5 separate regions of the Homo sapiens genome follow, and all the other regions are linked to region 1. The links are contacts of gene promoters, found by promoter capture Hi-C in blood cells and fetal thymus (Javierre and others, 2016). All regions are on one chromosome and are shown on one strand. The core of a region is centred on a gene start or on the middle of the fragment in contact, and the rest is flanking DNA. Distances in the headings are between cores, read along the strand shown.

Region 1 (3,127 bases), core at 394-2,893:
GTGTGGTATCTTACAGGTAGAAATCAACAGGATGGTACACTTAGTGTATTTTTACTCCTTAAAGAGCATACTCCTTAAAGGGCATACATAGTTTTCACCTTACAAGAAGGGGGAAAACCATAAATACAATGAATCAACTGACCATTATGTAGTAGACAATTTCTGTAATGTCCCCTTCTTTCTAGGCTCTGCGGATAGGAGAATCCACTAGACTTATAGTAGCATAATGTACAAGTTTTCTTTAAAGGTCTCTCCTTTAGAATATAAAATATTATACCATTGAAGAGTTTGGATGTGTAACCTGTGATGCCTTAGAAAAATATCCTAAGCACAAAATAAACTTTTCTAATCACTTCAAAAGATTAAAAAAACCAAAAAACAAAAAACAAAACCCAGCATTAGCAATGTCTTCACAAAAAGGATATATGGAAAATTACACATCTGGGCTCTTGCCAACTGATTGGAATGGTGTGGGTGGGTGAGGAGACAGGGCAAAGCAGAGAGAGGAAATTGTTTAAAAAAAAAAGGATGATGAGAAGTCTGGTTTCAGAAATTTTGCATAATACCTAAATTCAACTAACCTGCAAAAGCTCTGTGGGTAGTGATTTCGTTCTGCATCTCTCACGGTGCCACAGCATTTAAAAGATGCTCAATACTTATTAGTGTGGCCCCAGTCTCACATAAAGCATTTTTGTAATTGACAACATGGTTTTTGGGCTAAGCAAATACCACTCTACTGAAATATTAAACAGGGCAGATTCCCAACTGCAGCTTTAGCGGCAATTTAATGGTTGGCAAATATATTAAGTGGATGTGGACCTCACTATTTGGTCCTCACCCAGAAATACTGTAGGCTGCACACAGAAATTAAGCTTAGTTTCAATGAATAGTGAGACAAATTAGAGATGAAAAAGTTACATCTAACAAATAAAAAAGAAACCAACTTTAATATTCCCTTACCTAGACACCAGTATTCCACATTAGCTTTCCCTTATTGTCCTCTGACAGCATGCTTTAGTTCATCTTTTCAATATGTCTTGATTAACACTACTCCTTAACTTTAGGCTCCCTACCCATTCAAGCCACCCATATAAACTGCGTACACGTCCTTTGACAGCCATAATAAGTATAGTGTATGTTTCTCTCCAGCTCCTTTCCCTGTGATCCTCAACAAACTGCAAACTGTTCAAAGTCTACACATAGTTAATTTTGGTCGGTCCTCAGTTTCTAACGCATCCCGTAGGCGCTCAAAGAATGCGTCTTGTTGTTTTACACGCTTTCAAGTAACCATCGAGAAATCCTAGCAAGACGCGGGTCGGACCGGGTCCCTAGGGATAAAGAGAGCAGCGCCGGGCCAGGCTGGGGCCACTCTGGACCCAGCTTCTTCACAACTCCGCGCCTCTTCCCACAACCCAGCACCCCGCGCCGTCCACACCACGTTTACTTTGACTCGTCTTTGCATGTTACTCTGCCATTCCCGCTGCGCCAGGAGCGACTCGTCTGCTTCTTCGTCAAACACGTCCCCTTTGTCTCCAGGGCCCTGGATCAAGGAGGCTGCTTGAACCCACGACATCACCGAGGCAATTACGGGGTCGCAGGCCACCGGAAGCGCCAACAACTCCTTCCGGTCCGAAGGCGGGGCGAAGACGGCGAGTGGAGGCTCGGGAGGGGCTGCGTGTGCGCGGAGGCGGGCTGTGGCCCGTGGCCGCCGCCGGAGCCTTTCGCTTGCGGTGATTTTGGGCTCCCTCGGTTGGCAGTGTTGATGTGTGCCTGTGAGTTGTGAGCGAGGCAGATTTCCTCGCGTGGCCGGCACGACCTTCACCTTTGCAGAAGGCAACCGGGACCCTCAGTGAGACACCTTCCATTTCCACCGTAGTCTTACCATGGTCTGGGTTTTACATTCGCGCGCTTTGGTAAACTATTAAAGGTAGTAAAGTCGATGGGCGATTACCACCCAAATACTTTGTCTCTTTTGGAATCTCCTCTGCATTTAAAGGATTTGACAAGCCGACATTTTAAACTGTTAGGATTGTGGAGTAAAGGAAAATAGGATCGAAAAGCGAGGTACTGTAGCCAATTTGAGATTAGTAAGAAATATAGAGTACATTTGTAAAGCCAATATATTTTTTCATTGATTCACGATATCCTTCTGCCTCCCATTCCTGTTCATATGCCCTAAAGTAAACAGTTGGTTTGGTAAGGGTGGGGACTTGTGTCAACACCAGGACAGTTCTGACACATAGTAAATGCTGAACTCTATTTTGGTGAATGAATGAATACCTGTAGTATTCCTGTTTTGCCCTTTGCCTGGGTAAAATGAGTCATGTGATTATGATTTATTTATCTAACAATTTATTGAACACCTACCTTGTGTCAGGTACCATTCCAGGCTTTGGGATACATCAATGAACAGACGGAAGTTCCCAACCCTTGTCGACTTTATAGTCATGTAAAATTGACAGGATAAACAATAAGCAATATATAAGTAGCATAAGGTTTGTTAGAAGATCATAAATAAATGCTATGAAAAAAATTTTTAAATAAGCACAGTAAGAACCATAAGTGTGTGGGAGTGGGTGGTTGGTTCATGTTACAATTTTAAATCTCCAGAGAGAATTTGGCATCCCACAAATAAAAAATATATAAACTACAAATATGTATATTTTATTAATGTAAATATATTAAGATATATGTATATATCTTTATTAGGAACAAAATGGTAGTAAGCAATAAAGATAACAATAAAATAGAAAACCTCAAAACTTGAATAAGTAAGTCCAATTCTTTTTTGTATTATTTGAAAACACCAATAAGATAGATAATCCTGTCATGACCCAGATTTTTAAAGAGAACAAAATTATACAAGAATGAGAAATGAGATAACCACTGATGCAGAAGGAGATTAAAATATTAATTACCAACTAAAACTCAAAAGCAACACATTCGAAAACCTGAGAGATATGAATGACTTTCTAAGAAAATTGACCCAAGAAGTAGGGTCATGAAGAGACTAATTACCATAGAAAAATTGGACATTAAATATCTACTATTAAAAATGTCATGGAGACTTGGGAGTTTCACATTAAGTCCTTTGCAATCTTTAAGGAATGATGGAGTCTTAAACTAT
Region 2 (3,130 bases), core at 285-2,784, 480 kb before region 1:
TGCTATTACAGTTGTAAGCTGAAAACTGCTCTATTTACAAACAAAAAACCTTACACAAAATTCTTGAACAATTCAGTTATTCGATCTATATTAACTACTTAGAAAATAAAAACACTTCAAAGTGACTTTATACTTGCATGAGTATTACAGTAAGGCCCTACCTGGCTCTCTGTTTATAATGAAGCAGAAATATGAATGAAAAATCATTTGTTACATATTTATCTCAAAAAATATCTAGAAAATTTGAGACAATACAATAAATCTGTTAAAGGTAGATTTCTTTTAAAATCACAGTTATTAAGGTTCACTAGAGCAACATATGTATTTTAAAGGTATTCCATTATATTAATACTACCTCTCCAGGAGATTCTGAAGAAATCAGAATTATTCTCTTAAAAAAAAAAAAGAGAAGTTTTAAAGGAGTATATAAACCCCATAATGATAGGATATTTGCTCTTAAAACAAAATGACAGACTGAATTTTCCTCTTATACATTTAACTGAGCAGAAAAATTCAGTATACATTACCTGAAGATGCAAAGTTATGGGACTTTAAAACTCTGGTTCTCTAAACTCAAAATTTCTACATCAATCCAGCAGGGCAACAGGGACCATGGCCCAGTGAACACACCACACCCCGGCACTCCAATGGAACCCAAATTATATTTTAAAATGAAAATCAATGGGAAAATTAAGCCTCATAATATAAAATTTGGCTTTATAATCAGCTTTTCTGAAACATATCTATTCCAAATGTGCACAAATATCTGCATAACAAGAATCTATTAGATTAAAATGGTAATTAGCTGTTTTCCATTCCATAGGAAAGGATTTACATAATTAACAACAGACACAAACTTATATTAAGCAAAATCTAACTACAGTGAAATCTCAACCAGCTTAGCAGATAGAATTCTTAATTAACCAGAACTTGCCCAAAATAATAGCCACATTAATTTAGTCATATATATGCTTCTCAGCTGGGCATGGTGGCTCATGCCTATAATCCCAGCACTTTGGGAGGCCAAGGCAGGCAGATCACTTGTGGTCACGAGTTCGAGACCAGCCTGGCCAACATGGCGAAATCCTGTCTCTACTAAAAAATACAAAAATTAGCTGGGCATGGTGGTGCACATCTGCAGTCCCAGCTACTCGGAAGGCTGAAGCTGGAGAATCGCTAGAACCCGGGAGGCGGAGGTTGCAGTGAGCTGAGATCACGCCACTGCACTCCAGCCTAGGCGACAGAGTGAGACTGTCTCAAATAAAATAAAATACATATGCTTCTTAAACAGCAGAAGAAAAAAATATACTTCAAGTTAAGTTTTGGATTAAGTACAGTTCAGACCAATTTTTCCTTTCAACTTCTACCAAGAGGCACTATTATATATGACAGAAAGAATAAAAAATTGCGAATTGAAAACTTAACTATACACCCTTGGCTCTGCTAACATTTTTTGATCTTTAAAGTCACTCAACCCTTCACAATAGCCAGGATAGGGAATCAACGTTAAGCGTCCACTAAGAGATGGACGGATAAAGAAAATGTGGCCTGTAATCCCAGCTATCGGTAGGCTGAGGCAGGAGAATCACTTGGACCCCGGAGGTGGAGGCTGTAGTGAGCTGAGATTGCACCACTGCACTCCAGCCTGGGCGACAGAGTGAGACTCTGTCTCAAAAAAAAACAAAACAAAACAAAAAAAGGAAAATGTGGCATATACGCACAATGAAATACTATTCAAGTCTTTAAAAAACAAGGAAATCCTGTCATTTATGACAACATGGATGAACGTGAAGCGCATTGTGTTAAGTGGAATAAGGCAGGCACATAAAGACAAATAACTCATCATTTCACTTATACGTGAAATCTAAAAAACCTCAACTCATAGAGGTAGAGAGTAGAGCTGGTAGTTACCAGATACGGGGCATAGGGAGTATGGGGGGAAGATGCTGGCCTAAGGATATAAAAGTTCAGTTAGACAAAAGTAAATTCAAGAGATTTATTGTACAACTTGGCAGCTACACTTAATAACAATGTATTCTTGAAAATTGTTGAGAGTAGATTTTTAAGTGTTGGCACACACAAAAAAAATGTGGGGTAATGCATAGTAATTAGCTCAATGTAGCCATTTCACAATGTATACATATTTCAAAATTAAAAAAGGAAACTAACTCAGCCCTTTCTGGGTCTCAATTCGCTCAAATGCAAAATGAGGGACATAGCTTTTGAGCTTTAAAACAGTTTTAAACTTCAAAAAAAAAAAAACACTCATACAACCCTTTCCTAAAATAAAATGTTAATTTTAAGTGTAGTAGTTAAAACAAATAAAAACCAAGTAACTCTGGTGAAAGTTGGTACAGAGGACTGGAGGTCCAATCACAAAACCCCATCCACAGAACACTTTCTTTCCTTTCTCTCTCTCTGTCTCTCTTTCCTTCCTTCCTCCTTCCCTCTCTCCTCCCTTCCTTTTTTTTTTTTTTTTTTTTTTTTTTTGGAGACAGTCTTGCTGGAGTACAGTGGTGTGATCTCGGCTCACTGCAACCTCCGCCTCCCAGGTTTAAGTGATTCTTGTGCCTCAGCCTCCCAAGTAGCTGGGATTATAGGCGTGCACCACCAAGCCCAGCTATTTTTAGTAGAGATGGGGTTTCACCATGTTGGCCAGGCTGGTCTCCAAGTGCTGACCCTCAAGTGATCCGCCTGCCTCTGCCTCCCAAAGTGCTGGGATTTGTACAAGCATGAGCCACTGCGCCTGGCCCACTGCACACTTTCTGAGGGGTTTCATGGAACTTGAATAGATCCAAAACATATCACTTATAAACCTCTACTCTAGAACACTATATAAGGAAAATACTTTCCAGAATTATGTCACAGGCGCTGCAAGATTTAACAAAATAAGACTTTTTACTCTGAAAAATTCAAACGAGAGTTTTTGTTTATTGCTTTAACCAAAAAAAGCAAAGATTAAATGAAAGTAAACATCTATTCCTAAGACTGCAATCAACTGATGTTTCATTATATTAAATTATGGTGATATTAAAGAAATGACAAAATTGTCATAAAATAATTTTAAAATTCTTTAACTATATTATTTCAGATATATATATACACATATGGAAATAAAGACAAAAAAGGA
Region 3 (2,718 bases), core at 219-2,718, 420 kb before region 1:
GGCACAGAAAGATTAACTCATGAGAGTAGTAAGAGGTACAACTGGCACTAAAAACTAAGCTTTCTACTACAGCCCACTAACAAATGTTATTGTACTTCTAACAGTATTATAAATAGTAAATATAAAATAAGTCTCCTGTGCCATCCATTCCCTTCAGCGCCCATTTATTTCCAAAAGTAATCACTTCTAACCATTTCTTTTTACAATACATTTTTATTTAATCACCTAAAAACTTTTATAAAAAGTAAAACAATATCAAGTCTCTTCCTCATATGTAGTTAGTACATACATTTAGGTAAATTATAGACATCAAAATAAGGAAAGTTCCATTGGTGATGAGTTAATCTTTGGCCACACAGACATGTAGTAGAAGTGCTCATGAATCTTTAGAAACTTCCGTATCCATTAAACATACAAACACATTCAAAGAAAGAAGAGACAACAAAAAGGGGGAAAAGGAGAGGAGACAGAAAAGGTGAATCAAAAAAAAAAAGTAATGAACAAGAATTAAATGTGCCACCAACTAATTAAAGACAGATGCATAAGGAATATCCTCATTAAGCACTCACATGTATACGTAAGAGTTCTTGAAAATAACCTAGTAAAAATTTACTCCTAAAGCATACATGAAGAATAAAGTAGGTTGGGCGCAGTGGCTCACGCCTGTAATCCCAACACTTTGGGAGGCCAAGGCAAGTGGATCGTGAGGTCAGGAGATCGAGACCATCCTGGCTAACATGGTGAAGCCCCCCGTCTCTACTAAAAATACAAAAAATTAGCCGGGCTTGGTGGCGGGCGCCTGTAGTCCCACCTACTCGGGAGGCTGAGGCAGAAGAACGGCATGAACCCAGGAGGCAGAGCTTGCAGTGAGCCGAGAGAGCGCCACTGCACTCCAGCCTCGGCAAAAGAGCAAGACTCCGTCTCAAAAAAAAAAAAAAAAGGATAAAGTAGAGAAACACCAGTCTCAATGAAACATGGATTCTCAGTAACTGGTTACTCTCTAATGAAGTAATTCAATTCCACACTCAAGCCTCACAATTACAAATCACTACTGTTATGAACCTTCAGCGTTCCCTGAGAACAGTCAAACCTGCAAATACAACAATTATAGTAGTATAATTAAATAACACCCGATTAAATTGGATGGGGTCTCCCAACAACATTTTGATTATTTTTAAAAAGGCACCTCAAAGGGCATGAAACTCAAGAATTATTATTTCACTTTTGTTTGTGTTAAATTATAAAATTTTCATAATGCCAAAGTAAGCACTTGTCCACATGGCATTTTTATCCATCTGACTTCAAAATCTATTAAAAAAAAAAAAATCAGCTAGGAAAACTACTCATATAGTTGCTTTTTAATGGGGAGTGGGAGGGGGTGGAAGCTCTAATTTCTTCATAAAAATAAAAACAGCTAGGTGGTGTAACAGGCAGATAAACCACACAAGTCTAATTTTTCTACACTAGGATACAAAAAAGAAACATTCTTAGCTGTATTTTTACTGCCTCTTAAGAATATGTTTCTCAATAAAAAATAAGCCATACCCTCACTGTTCATAATAGAAATTTTTAAACATCTTAAAGGAAAGCATAATCACATTATGAATTTTCTCTTTTTTTTTTTTTTTTTTTTTTTTTGGTGAGACACGGTCTTACTGTGTCACCCAGGCTGGAGTGCAGTGGCGCAATCTCGGCTCACTGCAACCTCCACCTCCCAGGTTCAAGTGACTCTCCTGCCTCAGCCTCCCTAGTAGCTGGGATTACAGGCACCTGCCACTGCGCCCAGCTAAGTTTTTTGTATTTTTAGTAGAGACGGGGTTTCACCATGTTGGCCAGGCTGGTCTTGAACTCCTGACCTCAGGTGATCCACCCGCCTCGGCCTCCCAAAGTGCTGGGATTACAGGCTTGAGCCACCAGGCCTGGCCACATTATGAGTTTTCTATAATATAATGTGATTAATCCCAACTGCAAGACAGGCTAAAAAAATTTTTTTTTAATTAAAAGAGTTAAGAAAAGACTAAACTAAAAAGTGATAACAAAATCACTGACAGTGATAAATTTACAAGGCCACTGAAGAAACTTAGAAATAAATGAGACAAATGCTTGTGAGATGTATATTAACTAGGGCCAACTTATTCATAAAATATTCTGTCTCTGATTACATCATCAAGGAAAACTAAACCAAAGAGAATACTGGCATTTCTAATACCCAAAATCATATTGAAATATTCATTGTATCCCAAGACAATGGCAATTTTTCCCTGAATGTCTTAGTATAAACTTTAATTTTGCCATCTTGTATGCAATGTGCTTCATTTTAAGATGCATATAATCAAGAAAATTCATTCACTTGTAGTCTTTTTCACTAAAGTTGTTTCGAGGGGGTTAGGGGAGGTCAACTCATTTCTCACTTCAGACTTACATTTTTTCTTTGAACAGTTATTGACAAATACTTTTTGCACTTACCTATCAGCTTCTTTATCTTCAGGCAGCATGGGAGGCAAAGGTAACGGTGGTAATGTAGAGGTGACTAAAGCTACATGTTGCTCCTTCTCCTTGGCTCCTATGCTTGGTGTAAGTGGTTTGGTTTTCTCTTTAAGAGATACTGATTCCTCCTTTGTAGCAGCAGATTTACTCTCCTTTCCAACTATGACTGCTTTCTTGGTGGCTTTATCTACAATCAAATTATTTTCCACCTTCGTTACCTGAAGAGGTGGC
Region 4 (2,721 bases), core at 167-2,666, 270 kb before region 1:
CATATATAGAAGAGACTCTTCCTTAATATTTGAGTAGGGGTAGAGATATATGGAAACAAACAAAAACAAAACAGTATAGTTCACTAGTTCTACAACTGAAGTTAATAATGGACAGTAAGGGCTCAAAGAAAACAATGGTCGGTTATACCTGGGAAGTTCCAGAAATGCTGCAAAGATAGGGCCTATTTTGAAAGAAGGACAAAGTGCAGAGAGTGAGGATGTGAAGGGTTTCTAGACAGGGCAGTATGAGCAAAGGTATGAGGCATGAAATGAGAAACGACATGGCAAATGAGGGGTGTTAAAGTAATGCAGGAAAACTGGAACCTAGTCAGAGGGAGTGAGATGGAGAAATAAAATGGGAGAATCAGGCCAAACCACAAAAGATATGTGCCATGCTAGAATGTGAACTTCCCCATCATGTAATGGGGATCCACTCATAAACAGATGAGTTACAGCATCATAAAATATCTTAGAAAGGCCACCCTGGCAGCATTGTAATGATAACTGAACATGGCATGGGATGGGGGAGGGACAAAACTAGACAAGAGTATTTCAAAATGATGGGTCAAAGTGAATTATAGCAGTGAGATATGAAAAACGGTAAGCAGGTGGAAAAAGTATAACTTGTGAGTGACTGGATTGGTGATTTGAGGGAGTGCTGGAATGCGAGATTTTTCCTGTTTCAATGTTTCAGTTCTATTTACTAGATGTTACTTCCTAGGATGGGAAAATCAGATGACAGAGCAGATTACAAAAAGTCAGGAGAAGGTCAAGGACAATGTCTTCAGTGTGGGACAAGTCAAATTGAGGCACTCAGGGTGTAGGAGTGGGTGACCTTACTTGGGAAAAGCATATGGTGTTAAGAAAAGAAATATTTGTAAAATATACTGCACTGGTAGAATTAACTCATGAAAACCTATATACAAGTCTGAAATTTTGAAAATGGAAAGAAGAGGAGGGAAATAACATGAGATTCAATTTCTCAATTACATATTTCTTTTTTTTTTTTTGAGAGTTTTGTCCTTCATGTTTTATGGAATAAAAAGTTTGGCCTTTTTATTGCATGAAACTAAAATTGGGAAAGGTAGGGGGCGTGGATGGGGTGGGAGGGGGTTTAGGGGAGCAGGGAGATGCCCTCCCCACCAGCTCCTGGATAATAACACCTCACTTCTTGCATAATTTCTGGCGTCTTCCCGCCTGCAATGCCGGCTCTCTCAGCGTCTCGGAGAAGGGGGGATCACACACTCATCGTCATGCTTGGAGAATAATTGTCATTCTGAAAGGAGTGGAGGAAGCTCCCTCCTAGCTCGCCGTCATCTCGAGGGGTGCCTGGAGGATTGCTAATGCCACTTATGTTGTTAGGAGAATTTTTTGGAAGTCCGTCTATGTCGCCTGACCCTAATGATCCATTCATGTGGTGTGGCTCCATGCCACCCATGCCGCCCATCGGACCGTCCGAGCCGGGACCCATCGGGAAGTTGGACCTGCCGCCAGGTCATTGTGTAGATGTTGTCACTGGAATTTGTTGAATCTGCGGGACTGGGCATAATGGGTGTTCCTGGAGGGCCGCCACCACCGGGGGTCCCACATAGGTACCAGGTGATGAGGAGGAATATGGAATTGAGTTAGCACTGTTAGGATTGGGCCAGGGTCTGCCAGCTCCCGGGCCCATGTTAATCCCGGGCATGGCGGGCCGAGGGAGTTGGGTGGTGGTCTCATGCCGCTGCCGTAATTCTGTGGGCCGGGACCCATGGGCCCCATGCCTCGGGGAGGGTTCATTCTCTGCATTGATCCTCCCATGTTGGGGTGGCCTTGTTGTCGTGTGGGATCCATAGAATTGGGCAGCAATGGCTGTGTCCCAAGAACTCCTCCCGGAGGCTGGTTTCCCATTCTGATCGGGGGCCCGGGGCCGCCTACGTATCGCGGTGACATAAAAGGCTGACTGTGGGGTCCCATCATGCTGCTAGGATTGTGAGGTGGAGGCTGTGCGTGCGGCGAGGGCTGTGACCCCGGAGGACCCTGAAAGAAACCTGGCGGGATGGGGCCTCCCGGCATCCCATCGTTGGGGGGAATGTTGCCAAGCACGGGGCTCGGGGCAGCTGCTGCACTATAATCATGAAAGGCTTTTGCTTCACTTGAATGTTCACAAGTGTCTCTCCTTTGAGGAGCTGCACAGTAAAGGTCCCCAAATACACACCACCACGAGTGCAAAAACCCAGGCGGTTCTCCCAACGTGATGTTTTTTTCCCATCGAATCTCCGACAAGAAGGTCTCTGCAGATTTCTGTACTCTTACGTGCAGTAAATATTCGTAGACGTATGAAGCTAACTTTTCCCAAGCCTGCCCATCCGAGGGCACCGCCGAGCCTCTGCCTTTGGCAAACATGGTTTGCAGGGAAGAGGGCGCCGAGCCTCGCCGCCGCCGCCGCTACCGCTCCGGCTCTCCCGCGCTGCTCCTCGCTCCCGGCCCCCTCCCCGGCGCTCGCTCGCTCTCTCGCTCGCTGGCGCTCTCCTCGCCGCGCTCCCCTCCCTCCCCACCAGGCGCTGGCTCCGCGCTCTTTCCAGCTGTCAAAGCGTCAGCCCGGGCCGCGGCCCCATCGCCCTGGAACTCCTTCGGCGCCGGCTCGGCCTGGGGGTGCCGCCGCCGCCCGCACGGCCGCCCGCTCTCCGCTCGCTCGCGCGCCCGCCCGGCTCCGCCTGCGCCGCCCTCTGCGCCTCCAGC
Region 5 (2,713 bases), core at 156-2,655, 390 kb before region 1:
CAGGGGAAAAAGTAAAGCTAAGAGGGAACTGATGAAAAGAAATGCATGAGCCGAGGACTGAAGATTCAAATGAAGACAAAGAACAAGTTGTGAAGTGGAAATCACTAAAATGAAAAGGATTTATTTATCTGACATCAAAAAAAGCTTCAGGCTGGATGTGGTGGCTCACACCTGTAATCCCTGGACTTTGGGAGGCTGATGCAGCAGGTGGATCATTTGAGCCCAGGAGTTTGACACCAGCCTGGGCAACATGGTGAAACCCTATCTCTATTTTCAGCTTATTTAAAATTGTTTTTCATCTTCATACCACGATTTCAATACTATTTTGAATGTGTATGCATTTCCTTGAAAATATCTACGCTGACAATTCATTAATATGTAAGTTCTGCATAGGCTGGGGAAATATTACACTGTTTCTTACAGCATTACACATGGTCTGTATTAAATATTTTGAATGAAGTTTGTAATACAAAGCCCACATTAATATTTTGTATGTTCAGTAAACTCCAGCATCCCTTCATTTACACCTATTCAACATTTATTAAGAGTGTACTTGTGCCAGATACAGTGCTGAGCACTAGAAATACAATGATGGATAAGACAGCCCAGTTGCCTTCATGGAACTCACAGCAGTCCATTCATTAAAGAACATGGGCCACTTACCACAAGTAATAAATTCTGAAAATAAATAAAACTTTTCCATTAATCTGTACAAGTGAGTTCAATTAACCGTTCCTAAAAAGTAACAATACACTTATTATATTTTAAAATCTTTAGATTTTTCCAATCAACTATTTTAGCTATTAATTCTAGGCCCTATGTTTTAAGCTGGACATTTGACAAACTAGATATAATGTGAAAAATCTGAAAACCGTATGAGTTTTTTAGTCTAGAAGACTCAGAAATCATGACAACTGTCTTTATATTTTAAAGGGTTAGCATACACGTGTGCTCTGTACCATTCCAAAGGGTTAAACTTGGAGCAATGGTTCGAAGGTGGATTTTGGTCACAATATGAAGAATTCTAACAATTTGGGATATTGAATAATTCAACGACCTTAAATATTTCTGTAAGGCTGCATGCTTTAAAAAGATAAATTTTCACTTAATCCTTGAAATAATCCAGAAAAACAAGTGTTTCCCTGTTACAGTTTAGGAAACTGAGTCTTCAAGGATCTTGCTAAAACACTCAAGTCCCAAATCTAGTGAACAGGTTGCCTCTAACTAACGTGCTTCCCACCTCTAGATGTATTTCAGGCACATACCAAATGGCCATCTGTCAGCAATGTTAGCCAAGACACCCTAAAGTTCCTTCCAAATTCAACTCTTTAGAAATACTGGTGGTCAATGTAAACACCATGAAAAGATTATGTGTTGAACGGTCCTCCAGAATGCAAGCTCTATGAGGGCAAGTAACTTTTTCTTTCCTGCTACATCCCAATACCTAAAACAGTATATGGCATACAATACAGGGTCAAAAAATACTTGCTAAATATGAATAGTCCTAGTCATACATACCACGATTATATATTTCATATATGTATATAAAAAATACATACCACTATTATACAATAAAGGATCTCGCTGAAGTATCCAGCAACTAAAAAACCTGATAAGTACAAAATCCATTCTTAAAATTGCATCAAGCACTTTAAATTGTTCAAGTGCTGAAACTTCAACCAACCAGTTTGCAAAACAAATTCAACTGCAAAAACTGCAAACCCTTTGGCAAAGTATTATAGTTAAAAGTAACATACAAAGTCTTACAAGATACAATGGCTAATTTTGATGAATGAGTTTTTCAATTCTTCGCTAAGGTATCAACTAACATTTTAAGTATGCTTCAACACTCTTTAAGAGTGAAGCAATTTATAGAACTTTTTTGGCTTAAAGACAAACTCACGCTCAGATCTCTATAAACATCACACCTTTACATTTATTATGGTGATACTTCAAAAAGGTCTGCTAATTTTGCAGATGCATATTCGTATTATGTTGAGATTCCACATAACCCATACTTAGAGGTACTGTACATCCACTTGCCATTACTGAAACCCAGGAGGAAAAACTGATACAAATGTCATTTTGCAATACTCTACACTATAAGGTCTGGAATGTCCAAACATCTCAAGGAATATAAGAACCCATAAAATACTCGAAAGTTGTTTTTAATGCACTTTGCTTAGTGGATAAGTATATTTTAAGGCACACTTTTTAAAAAGAATATTATATAACAAAAAAGGCAAGAAAGCTACAGAAAAGTTTTACTCCAATTTCATTAAATTAAATTACACCTTTTAAAGATTTCTGGACAAAGATCCTGATATTTAAAGGTCTAGTTATATTGTGTTTTTATCCTTCGGGTATATATCTAAGAAAAAGTCTACTTAGCTTTTAAAGTAAGCAGTTACAGGCTTATAATAGTATAAGAATGTACTCAGCCATTCACTTGGTTACACTAGGTTACACCACCCAGATTTATAATGTTATTAGCAACTGGGTGTCATCACAAACCAACAAAGAAACCACAGTCTTGTCATTTTTTCTACCTTCTATAATTATGACTTTGAAAGATCAGGTAAAAACTATCCCACACAAGAATATCACTAAATAGATACCTTTTTTAACTTCAGTATTCAGAACTATCGGCTTCCACCTAAGCTTTTTTAACATACTAAAAGAATAAACTTTACAGAAAGGCTGCTTCTCCCAT

What was found. Contacts are between HindIII fragments. The CHiCAGO score rates a contact against its expected background, and 5 or more counts as called.
Region 2: a fragment that was not itself captured here is called in contact with the fragment with the promoter of YAE1-DT in region 1 in 5 of 17 cell types (naive CD4 T cells, total CD4 T cells, fetal thymus and 2 more); the score reaches 7.9 in naive CD4 T cells.
Region 3: a contact is called between a fragment that was not itself captured here and the fragment with the promoter of YAE1-DT in region 1, in 3 of 17 cell types (naive CD8 T cells, non-activated CD4 T cells and naive CD4 T cells). The highest score is 5.1, in naive CD8 T cells.
Region 4: a contact is called between a fragment that was not itself captured here and the fragment with the promoter of YAE1-DT in region 1, in 1 of 17 cell types (erythroblasts). The highest score is 5.0, in erythroblasts.
Region 5: a fragment that was not itself captured here is called in contact with the fragment with the promoter of YAE1-DT in region 1 in 1 of 17 cell types (activated CD4 T cells); the score reaches 5.0 in activated CD4 T cells.

What each region holds. Positions count from the first base shown.
Region 1 is chr7:39,564,865-39,567,991 of GRCh38, reverse strand. YAE1-DT (YAE1 divergent transcript) reads left to right here and starts at 1,643. Exons shown (of 3, transcript NR_187579.1): 1 at 1,643-1,849. YAE1 (YAE1 maturation factor of ABCE1) reads right to left here and starts at 1,588. Exons shown (of 3, transcript NM_020192.5): 1 at 1,445-1,588. The coding sequence starts at 1,573. It also overlaps the pseudogene TMX1P1. RefSeq lists an enhancer at 1,302-1,751. The HindIII fragment of the contact is 5,827 bases long and covers 875-3,127 here.
Region 2 is chr7:40,048,540-40,051,669 of GRCh38, reverse strand. The region is part of intron 7 of CDK13 (cyclin dependent kinase 13); the gene reads right to left. Among named protein-coding and RNA genes, the nearest start is that of MPLKIP, 85 kb to the left of the region's middle. The HindIII fragment of the contact is 5,751 bases long and covers 1-3,130 here.
Region 3 is chr7:39,988,007-39,990,724 of GRCh38, reverse strand. It overlaps CDK13 (cyclin dependent kinase 13), which reads right to left. Exons shown (of 14, transcript NM_003718.5): 2 at 2,467-2,718. Among named protein-coding and RNA genes, the nearest start is that of CDK13, 39 kb to the right of the region's middle. The HindIII fragment of the contact is 2,813 bases long and covers 62-2,718 here.
Region 4 is chr7:39,833,235-39,835,955 of GRCh38, reverse strand. All of the region lies in intron 1 of LOC101928688 (a long non-coding RNA gene), which reads right to left. It also overlaps the pseudogene LOC100422519 and the pseudogene SSBP3P1. Among named protein-coding and RNA genes, the nearest start is that of LINC00265, 100 kb to the right of the region's middle. The HindIII fragment of the contact is 3,054 bases long and covers 1-2,721 here.
Region 5 is chr7:39,952,358-39,955,070 of GRCh38, reverse strand. The region is part of intron 1 of CDK13 (cyclin dependent kinase 13); the gene reads right to left. Among named protein-coding and RNA genes, the nearest start is that of CDK13, 3.5 kb to the right of the region's middle. RefSeq lists an enhancer at 2,689-2,713. The HindIII fragment of the contact is 2,517 bases long and covers 147-2,663 here.